Linked DNA regions of Homo sapiens: region 1 is linked to region 2. Evidence: promoter capture Hi-C in 16 types of primary human blood cells and fetal thymus (Javierre and others, 2016). All regions are on one chromosome and are shown on one strand. The core of a region is centred on a gene start or on the middle of the fragment in contact, and the rest is flanking DNA. Distances in the headings are between cores, read along the strand shown.

Region 1 (5,299 bases), core at 303-2,802, 790 kb before region 2:
TTGCAGAGGAGTCTGCTTGCTACAAGACAGAAATCTCATTCATCTAATGTTAAATTATAGATCTCAGTTCTGTAACTAGTTCAAGTGGGATAGAATTTAAAGTCTACCCCATTACACTGTGAAAGAAGAAATGGGAACTGCTGATGACATTAGAAGCAAAGGGACTTTGAAATGCTCTCAGCCTATCCTATCACACCTGAAGCCTCTCTTTATAATATGCTGCTATTCCTTGGATGTGTTAGAAGGTGGCTTTCAAATCAAATGAAGCAGAAAGCAGAGCTCCAAGGGGCCGGTTTTGACACACACACTCCCTAGCTAGGCAGGTCATCTACCTCTGCATTACAAAATCATCTGAAGATTACTAACAGTTCCAAGCTTCCATGTATTATCACCAGCCTATGGGCACTGGCTTCCATTCAGTATTTGTCTATGTGACTGTTTCAGCTGCCAAATTTTTGATATTATACCATTAATTTTTTCATTTCTAATAAATGAGATAATTTAGTGAAATCACATATTCTAGGCCCATTTTAAAAAACCCACTTATGTTCATGTGTGTATATGTCAGTGTTTATAGTGATGGAAAATCTCCAGAAAACAGGGCTGAAGTCCTGTAAACACCAAATGTTTTCCTTAAGTGAGTTCGTTTTGGGGAATGCTCTTTCACATGATTCTTGCACATAATTGCCTCACCTCTGGACTGCTGCATTCACATCTGGCCTGAGCCCCCATGAAGTGGGGGTTGGTTTTCATTGCAACTTGGTGGTAGTTTGCCTATGTGCTGAATCTGAAAAGGTTCAGCATAATATTTTGAGCAAAGGGTTGGATCATGACCATATTTCTCTCCCTGCTTCTGTGATGTTCTAGTAGAGCTAGGCATTTCTCTCTCGGTTTCTTTCCCTTTCTTCCTCCCTCCTTCCCCCATCCCCAGTTCCCAGTTGTGAGCAGGTTGGAATGAAGGGAACATGAGGAAGAAACACCTGCTACCCGCTGATTTAACTTTTTCTAGGACATGTGTGTGTATGTGTGTGTGTATGCGGTGTGTGTGTCTGAGTATAGGGCTGGGATCAAGGGAATAAGGGGAAGAAAACACCTGCTACTCTCTGATTTAACATTTTCTGGGATTGGATTTTTTTTATTGCCCTCAAGGCAGTATTTTGATGAAACAAAAAGAAATGAGGAATAAACTCAAATCAAGTTGCCACCAACTAAAATTGAGCAGGCAGGGTAAAAATAATGCTTCTCAGGTATTCTGACCTTGTTAATTATCAACAGAGTAGCCTCCAACTGTCTTGCAAAATAGAGTTCTCTTTCTCTATGGGAGGTATCTCAAATACTCAGACAACTATGGCCTTGGACTTGAAGCAAACCAAAGATGGATTTTCTTTCCACATCCTCTGATGGACCTAGAGAAAATAGGCATGGTACACAAGGCAGGGAAATTCATACCAAAAAATGAAAATAAAACAAATCCCAACTACCTAAAATGATTACTGTATATAGTGTTTGCTTAAGTTTCATAACTTATGTTTATTTTAATTTTAAAAAGATAAGAGACAGTTCATATCACAAGATATGTTAGGCAAGTCACTTTTACCCCATTTCTCATTTTCCTCTAAAGGGCGCTCAACTTCCACCCCACTGGCTAAGAGAAAACAGTGCTGGGAGATACTTCTTGTTTTTTTCTTCCTCCTCTCATGGCTCTTCCCCATGGGAGAAGGAGCAATGATCCTACCGATGACAGGGTAAAAGCTGGTGGTTTGACCATTGGTTCATATTTTTAGTGGGGCCATGTTAAGATTTAAAGTTTAAGTCACCTGTGCTGTTGTTCTTTTGGCGTGTAGGGAAGGCCAGAATTTCCTGTTTAGTGGCATTGTGGAGATGAAGGGGAGGCTCTTATTAGTATACTACCTCTATTCTCCTTAGACAGGAACAGGAATTCCTTTGTACTCTCTGGGTGGAAACGGTGTTGAAGTAATATTTTCTGCTCTTGTCCCTATCCTTTCTCTTTAAGGGGAGAGACATATCTGATTGACGATGAGAAGAAATGGGAACTGAGAGTACACAGTTCAGCCTCACTTTGACTTTCCCTTTTTCAGAATTTATTTACTCAAAATGCACATTTTTCCATTTTCCAAAAATTCAACTCACTGAGACCATCTCTGTACCACCCGGGTTGACCTGAAATTGGGTGGGGAAGTTCAACTCAGGGGAAAGTTCTCAGATCCCAACACTAATCAAACATTACCCCATTATTAAAACTTTTTTTTGCTTTCTTTATGATGCGATAGTCTATTTTCCTCAAATTTCTCAGGACTCCAAGGAAAGATGGGTGAAATTACTCTGGCAGCTTTCTTTAAGTAGAGGCAACTGAGGTGAAGTGCAAAAGAATAGGACAATTGGGGTGAGATTATCGCTGCTGGAATCCCAGCCCTGATGCTACTAGCATGGTTCTGACCTAAGGTGTGTCAGTTATTCTCCTGGGTCAGTAAAGTGAGGATAATACGCACCAATACTTCTCAGGGTCAAATGAGGACTCATTCATGGAAGTGTATAAAATGCATTTAAAAAAATCAAAAAGCAAATTTCGAAGAATATTTACTTTGTGCTATGAACATTTATAAGTGTTTCATGTATAAAGGCTCAAGTAATTTTCACAGCCCTGTAAGGCAGGCTCTGTGTTTTGTTCTCATTTTACACATGAGGACATGGAAACAGAAAGAAGCTTAATAACTTGTCCAAGGTCCTACAGTAAGTGACAGAGTTGAGATTCTAACGTAAATTGTCTGCCTGTAAGCCTGTATCTATGAAATACAATATGCATAAAAATAAACTTTCATATACCAGAAATACACATATATAATATTTTAGTCTATTTTCTACAATTCATTTGGCTTTGTTTTTCGTTAAGGTATTAGATGCCTTAGTTATTTGTTAAAATATAGTAAGACAAATAATATCACCTACTTTTTATTATTAAAGTAAGAGGAAGAATGCTGTAAATAAAATGTAGGTATGAAAAGTAGAAGAGTCTCACAAACCCCATCACATGATAGAAGTGAGATAGAATCAACAATCTCCTAAGTTGAGGGACGGATGATCTATTACCCTGGTCCTTTCTTGTGTTCTCTCTTTCCCTTCCATCGTGACTTTTGTTGTTGCTTTTTTTCCCAAGACATGATCAGGAGAAAAATATTTATAAGTTGTGATTTAATATGGATGTTTGACTCATGGATTCTGGTATACTAGAGCAAAAAGGAATTTTTAACCACCACCTGGAGAAAATTAGGACATGTAAGAGGTGAAGGAACTTAGGAAAGTGCTCAAGCCCAGAGCTTAGCATTGCCATAGATTCTGATGTTGCTTCAAATGCAATTGAAAAAAACAAATATAACCCAAATTAAAATTTAAATATCATATTGTGAGAACATCCACTTTTTGTGAACAAAAGAGTATGAAGGGAAGGCTCACGGGGTTCTCACATTTTGTATGTTGTGGATGTAAATATATATAACTCTGTAACATTGTGCTTTTCCTATGTGAATATATTTTCATTTTACTGGTTGATATTCACTTGTTAATAGTTACATATAGCTAACTTCCAGTTCTGAGACTGCAGACAATGTAGGCATTAATGCTTTATATCATCAAGCACATCTCTACCCACTAAAATAGAGTTTTGTATGATGTGAGCAATCCTTGGTAATACTAAGTGGATGTGTGCTCAACGTTCTTATTCTTAACCTTAATTCCCACCATACCTTCTAATAGCTACAAAGATCAATTCTAAGTGGTATTTCAAGACAATCCTCTGGCATGAGAACTGAGGCAACTCTTTTGAAAGTATTCATTAGTCACAAAACTGGCTACCCTGAAAGTATGATGATTCCATCAATATTCCTCAAAGGCATACATCACTCTGCTACTAACTGAAAGAACCAGAATTCAAACTCAAGGTGGTATTATCTCAAGGAAGATGCTCTCTCCATAATGTTACAAAGAATTCTAATACCAGTTTTTCCAGTTGCTAGTCTTATGCAATTGGGCATACTTACTCCAGTATATCATAGTCAATACTGTTTGGTTGCAAGTTACAGATATTGGCTTAAACCAGCATAAGTACAAGTGAGTAATTGTTGAGTTTTCAGGGATAGCCAGTGCAAACCAAGGACACAAAGTTCGATTTATGAGAAAAAGATACAGGAACTAAAATATCATCAGGAAACAGAGCAGCCACTCTTTTTACTATGCAAGGCCCAATGCTCTATCCCTGGCCAATTTATTCTTCTCTCTTCACAACTAGCTTTTACAACGTTTCCACATGCCTGCTAAAAATCACTGGAAGCCTCCATTGCCAGCCATGCTGCTAAATAACCTCTCAGCTTTACCAGCATTGGTCCAATTTTGTCATGTGTCAAGGAACCATTCCTGTTGGTGGGGGCCAGTTCCAAAGGGAGGCATGATGGGTAGACATCCAAACTTACAGTATAGCATGTCTACATTTCCTCACTGGAAAATGGGAAGACTACATTAGATAATAGTAAAAATAATAACAATTGATATTTACTAAGTCTTTATTCTGTTTTAGACACTTGGCTAAGTCATTCACATGTATTATCTCATTAAACCTTGTAACAACCCTAAGAAGCAGAAAGTTTATTGTCCCATTTTATAAGTAAGATAAATGAGGCACTGAGAAGTTAAGGAACTTGTTCAAGATGATCTTTAAAATTTCCTTGTAGTTCCAAAATGCAAACATACACAGTGTTACAAAGATGGATTAAAATAATAAAAATAATATAAAAGCATATTTTATTTCTTAATTTCAGGTCATTTTTTTTCCTTAAAGAAAAAACTATGGCCTAAACAAAAAATGGCTAGAATATATCTCAATGATAAGATTAATTAAATTTAGATAGTTATCATTCTAAAAGAACAGGACATGGTAAGAATGATAGATGAAATAAAGTTATTGTCAAAATAGTGAGTCAGACATCCAGAAAGAAACAAAAGTCTCCAACTATAAAATGTGGAGTTTTTGGTTAAAAAAGAAAAGAAAATATGAAACAATTTAAGTTGAGTTTCTCAAGCTTGAAAGATATATTTTTCCTGATGGGTATATTTCAATCTTGTTTTACAACGATAATCATGTTATGTTAAGAGTAAGTTACGATGCTCCATTTAGAATACCATTTGAAAATGTTCAACTCTATGCTTAAGCTTTATTACCTCTTTTAAATGCAGCACACTTGAAAATGTCTGGAAATATAGTATTTCCCAATAAGTAAAAATGAATGGT
Region 2 (4,976 bases), core at 895-3,394:
GGAGTGTGAGGGAGGCCCTGGGACTCGCTGGTGCGTGTGCGGAGGGCCCTCTCTCCAGCTGGGCGCTCCAGGCGCCCTCACCACGTGCGCCGCAGGCTGCTGAATCAGCGCGATCAGATAGACTAGACAGGCGCAGAGGGGCGGGCATAGACCTGCTTTTCTCTCAGCATGAACCATCAGGTCTTCCGCATTAGGCCCCCTTAACCCACCGGAGGAGGCTAGCCAGCCTACCGCCTTACCCACTTGCGCGCCTCCGACCCCCCTCTGGAGACTGCTGGCTGCCAAATCTTCAGACCGCCGGTGGTGTCCACGCTCCTCTGGAGCCTGTGTAAGAAGGAGCCCAATGGCCCGTGGAGTCTTTGGTCTGAGATGGAGCAAGTTAGGAACATCTAGGAGCAACCAGGCTGACACTGAAACCAGGTGACTGTGAGCGCTGCTGTCTCCTGGCTACATTTCCGGTCTCCCTGGGTACCTGACAGGCCCTGGCTGGGGCTCTGCCTGGTGGACCAACCCGCGCTGGAAGAGCGATCTGGCCCTACTGAGCAAAAGCCCCACAGAGATCTCCCCACTCCTACTCACAGCCCCAAACCGTCCCTGCCCCCAGCTGCCTAGAGGCAGTGAAGAGAAACCAGAGGAGTGGCTGCGATGGTCTGGAAACATAGATGGGGTGGAAGGGAAGAGGAGATGAGAAAGGAAAAAAGAGAGCGTGCTGAAAGAAAAAACTCAGAGGGAAAATTTAAAACTTTGTTTATAAAAAGTCCTACAAAATCTGCACCCCTACCAAATTTAACCTCTGCGTTTCTTCTAAAATAAGGAACTTTCCCCTAACTGTTCTTGGGGACCAAAGGCTGGCCACTCTCCTAATACGGTGTAGTCATGGTCTCAAGATACTAAACATTGTTAAATCCAACTCTGGAGTTAGTAATTTCAATGTTTATCATGTCTCCCTCTCTAAACGCGTCCAGTTTTCTAGAGCACAATCTTCTTCCAAGCAGGAATGTCTGTCTGGTGTCCCCTAGTTATCTATCTGTCTGTCTATCTATCTGTGTATCTATCTATCTATCTATCTATCTACCTATGTGTATACATTGTATACATAGACTTATATACATATATACATATACATATACAATATTAATTTGAGGTTTATGGTAGCGGATGGAAGAGGGAAGTATTTGGGATTTGATTCTTCTTTTCAAAAAATAACTTCAGTTATGGATAGGGAGAAGGGCTGCCTTTGATGCCTAATGAAAAATGCCAGGCTAGTTCATAAGCAGAAGGTAAACAAATTGAGTGAGAAGAAATGAGTTTTTTGTTCTCTCCTGTCATGGCTGGGGACTCGTCTTTGAGGCTAGAGCAAACTGAAAACAAGGTACCCGTCTGGGCACCAGCCTCTAGGTAACATACACCTGAGAAATCGCAATTCCTCATGCCCAGGAGAGGGGTGCGTGTGCGCACGCCATATAGATGCATCTCCACCCAACCCGCCCGGCTGTTTCTGAGTATCAGCTTGGTCCCAGTGGCCTGGGCTCAGGAAGGTGAGCCTGTGTCCCGGCGAATACCTGCTGTCCCTCCCGAATCTTCCGCGGCCGCCTAGGACGGGTTTTGTAGGAGAGCGAGTAACTTACTTAACATATTGGCTTCGTGGGATCCATTGACTTTGCCATCCGGGTAGATCTGCAGATGGAAACCGATGCCCACTCTGCAGTAGAGGCTGCCGGTCCGGCGCCCCGAGGGGCTCCACTGGAAACTGCTCTGCTCCAAGCCACTTCCTTGGCTGCCCAGAGAAGCTGCGGGGGAGGAGGAGGCAGAAGAGGAAGACATAGCGCTACTGCTGCTCTGTCTGCTGCTGGAGCCTCTAGGGTTCCTATCAGTGGCAGCGGGTCCGGGTTGCCCTTTGGGGGCGAGACGCTTCTCCCCGTGAGCCCAGGCGCTGAGGATCAGGTGGCTGAAGAAGAGGAGGAGGAGGAAGGACAAGCTCATTCTTCCAGCCGCGGGGGTCCTAAGTGCATCTTGTAGGGCTGATTCTGGGCTCTGTAGCCCCTGTGCGGCTGCGTGCCTCTGGCTCTGCCCGCCTCGCCGCACCGGGTGGACATAGCCTCGGGGAAGAGAAGGGGAGAGGGGAAGAGAGAGGCCACCCGAGCGGATCTCCGCGCTGGCACCGGGATATTTATAACGCCAGTGATCTCACTGCTCCGTGCACGCCTGCGAAGCTTCCCCTCACCCGCGGCTTTGTGTACTCACTGGCCGGTGCGGGGAGGGAGCCTCGCGGTCCCGGGGGCGGGGGATGTGAAGGAGGGAGGAGATCCGAGCGAGTGAGTGGGAGGAGAAGCTGGGCTGAGAGAACCTGCGCCCCGGACGCTGGGTGCGCCCATACCAGGGCCACGCATCCCAGCAGTTCTCTCGCGTCGCGCGGCCACCCGGATTCCCCGACTAGGACCAGAGCCGCGTGGAAACGAGCTCGGCGTTAGCAGCTGAGTCCTCCAGGGGCAGCGATAGAAACGGAGGGTTGAAATGTGGAAATGGGTCCTTGTCCTCTCCCACCTCTACAGCACACTTGTGACTGGGCAACGCACTCTTGCCCCCCAGGACACGATTTCCAGGTTCTCCTCTCTTTGCCCTGTAAACCCTGCTATCTCGTCCTCTCTCTGGGAGCCCTTGGAGAAATGCGTCCCACCAGGAGATCCCACTGCTTCTACGTCTTTCGGCGTTGGAAAACCAAACAGGGATTCGCAGCCCAACTTGGGAAGCCTTTGGTGTGGCGCGGTTCGGGGAGAAGGCTGTTTTTGCTGTTATTAGCGATTTATTAAAGAGCTAAGGAATGGGTTTATTCAGCGTTTAAAACGCCACCCTGAGTCATCATGCCACGACTGGAGCTGCTTTCTTGTTGGAAACTCTCGGCTGCGCTGAACATTATGACGAATTTGTTTTTCCTTCTGGGAAGCTCTCCGTCTGTATTCGTGAGAGTGAGGGCACACGCACCCCCGCGCTCCGACCGGGGAAAGAGAGGCAGCGGCTGGACACCAGCACATGTAACTGACCGCCCAGTTGTCCTCTTTCGCCCCAGGATCCCCGTGGCAGGAAGGGTTAGCTAACTGCTCGCTTTAGCTTACCCAGACCTGCCATTGACTGAGGGACCGACCTCAGTGAATGATTAATGACGTGCGCGCTGGATTTCAACCTCAGGAAACCCGAGAAGGGAAAATTTCCTTGAGAACAGAGAATTTCCCTGTACGGGCAACGTCCCCAGACTGTTATTTATCTGGGAAATACACCTGACTTGCATGCTTGGAATGTTTCTGTCTAAAAACATATTTGAAACTTTAAACTAAGCTATGATACATTATTCATTGGTTATTTTAATGAAACGGCCCGTGCTATTGACTGATAAGGTCAATTCAGATGAACCAAGGTTGAAGCTAAGAAACGGCCTTACCCATTATTGAGTACCTACTTAAGGTTTTCCATCTCAATAATGAAACGCATATAAAACAATGCAGATTTTTCAGGTTTGGAATCTTCCACCGCCAGAGTAACATCAAAGTACTTGTAAAACAGAAGGTTACCTGGAAAGTGTAGTAAAACCACTGTGATAAAGAAAGAGGACATCACACATAGATGTGCATAACATGGGCACACTACATGAGATACTGTCCAGAGCTGAACACACCCCCTGTCCACTGTTCTAGGCTCAAGTTATATACTTCTCCCTTAACTAGGGTGGGTAGGCAGATCCTTACAAGGCAACCCTAAAAGTAGACATTGAGAACAGTCACAGTATCTCTCAGAATGGTCTACTTGACTGAAATCACCTTCTTCTGGGGAGGATGATTGTAGGATGGTTCTGAACCTGGGTGCTGTTCCTTCTTCAGGCAATGCCCTGAGGTCTGTGGCAAAGCTGTCAGGGTTTAAGCCACATTGATGCTGCTGAATGCCATTTGTAAGTTCCCCCATGCCACGCAAATACACAGCCCATTCCTCAAGTGACGAAGATTCTCCAAAGCAAATCCAGCTGCTTGTTTCTCCCTTTCCTTTTCCCAAGGAGTCTGCTGAAAGAGGAGGAGAGTGGTTCCTGCCCCAGCTGCACTATCAGCCCCCTGTCTAAACCCAGGAGGTCAAGAGGACTCTGGAGTCCAGTTTCTGGAGCTGTTATCAGCCTCTTGTCTTTGCTCCCTTCTCTCAGTTTCTGCAGCCCCGCCTGCACTGAAACAACCATCCTTGTTTCCCTCTCAACTCCCGCAAGAGCCAAACTGGGGATCAAATCCTTGCCTAGGGATGACCCAGGAAGGCAAAGACACCTGCTCAGGCTTTAGTCTACCTCAAACTGGAGGATGGCAAGATACACTTTTCTGGATTCCAAGGGCTTAGAAAGAGTCAGGGGCTCACTAAAAGGAGACAAGTGACCAGCTGTTGTGGACAGTGATTGAATTTGGCAAACCAGTCCTCAACGCCCGACTGTCTTCCATACTGGGGTGGGAGGATTGGGGGTTGGGCGGGCAGCCGAATGTGCCCACATACTCGGGGCTTAAAAGGAAATCTCCATTGGTGATCATAAGTGTGTAGGGTGGATGCTATTAAACTTTTTTTTTCACAAGAGAGTTATGTATTGGGGCCATTAAAAAAAGCTACAAAAACTGAACAGTGAAACATGAAAGACAGCACTGCGCTTGTTCCGTGAGCTGAGCTGCCAAGCCCCCTTCCTCCGCAGCTCAGCTGAGAGACGAAAGGGTCGCGCTATGCGCCAGGGCTGCGCCCGCCCTGGTCTACATCCTGCCTACCACTCTGAGCAGCCGATCTTCGAGAGCCTCTGTCCACAGCAATTCTGCAGTGGGGAATGTGGGGCGGGGAGCTATCTCAATTTACTGTTTTGGCTACCTCGAGCCCTACTCCTGTGAACTCCACCCAAAAGAGCGCAAGCCTGCACCACACTTTCTCTGGCGACTTTCCGAAAAGTTAATCGCCCAAAGCCCCCTGCT

What was found. Contacts are between HindIII fragments. The CHiCAGO score rates a contact against its expected background, and 5 or more counts as called.
Region 1: a contact is called between a fragment that was not itself captured here and the fragment with the promoter of FGF5 in region 2, in 1 of 17 cell types (naive CD8 T cells). The highest score is 5.1, in naive CD8 T cells.

Annotation. Positions count from the first base shown.
Region 1 is chr4:81,057,531-81,062,829 of GRCh38, reverse strand. BMP3 (bone morphogenetic protein 3) reads right to left here. Exons shown (of 3, transcript NM_001201.5): 3 at 5,203-5,299. Among named protein-coding and RNA genes, the nearest start is that of BMP3, 29 kb to the right of the region's middle. The HindIII fragment of the contact is 2,350 bases long and covers 378-2,727 here.
Region 2 is chr4:80,263,832-80,268,807 of GRCh38, reverse strand. It overlaps FGF5 (fibroblast growth factor 5), which reads right to left and starts at 2,144. Exons shown (of 3, transcript NM_004464.4): 1 at 1,629-2,144. The coding sequence starts at 1,983. RefSeq lists enhancers at 1-175, 1,918-2,449, 4,966-4,976. The HindIII fragment of the contact is 3,016 bases long and covers 1-2,215 here.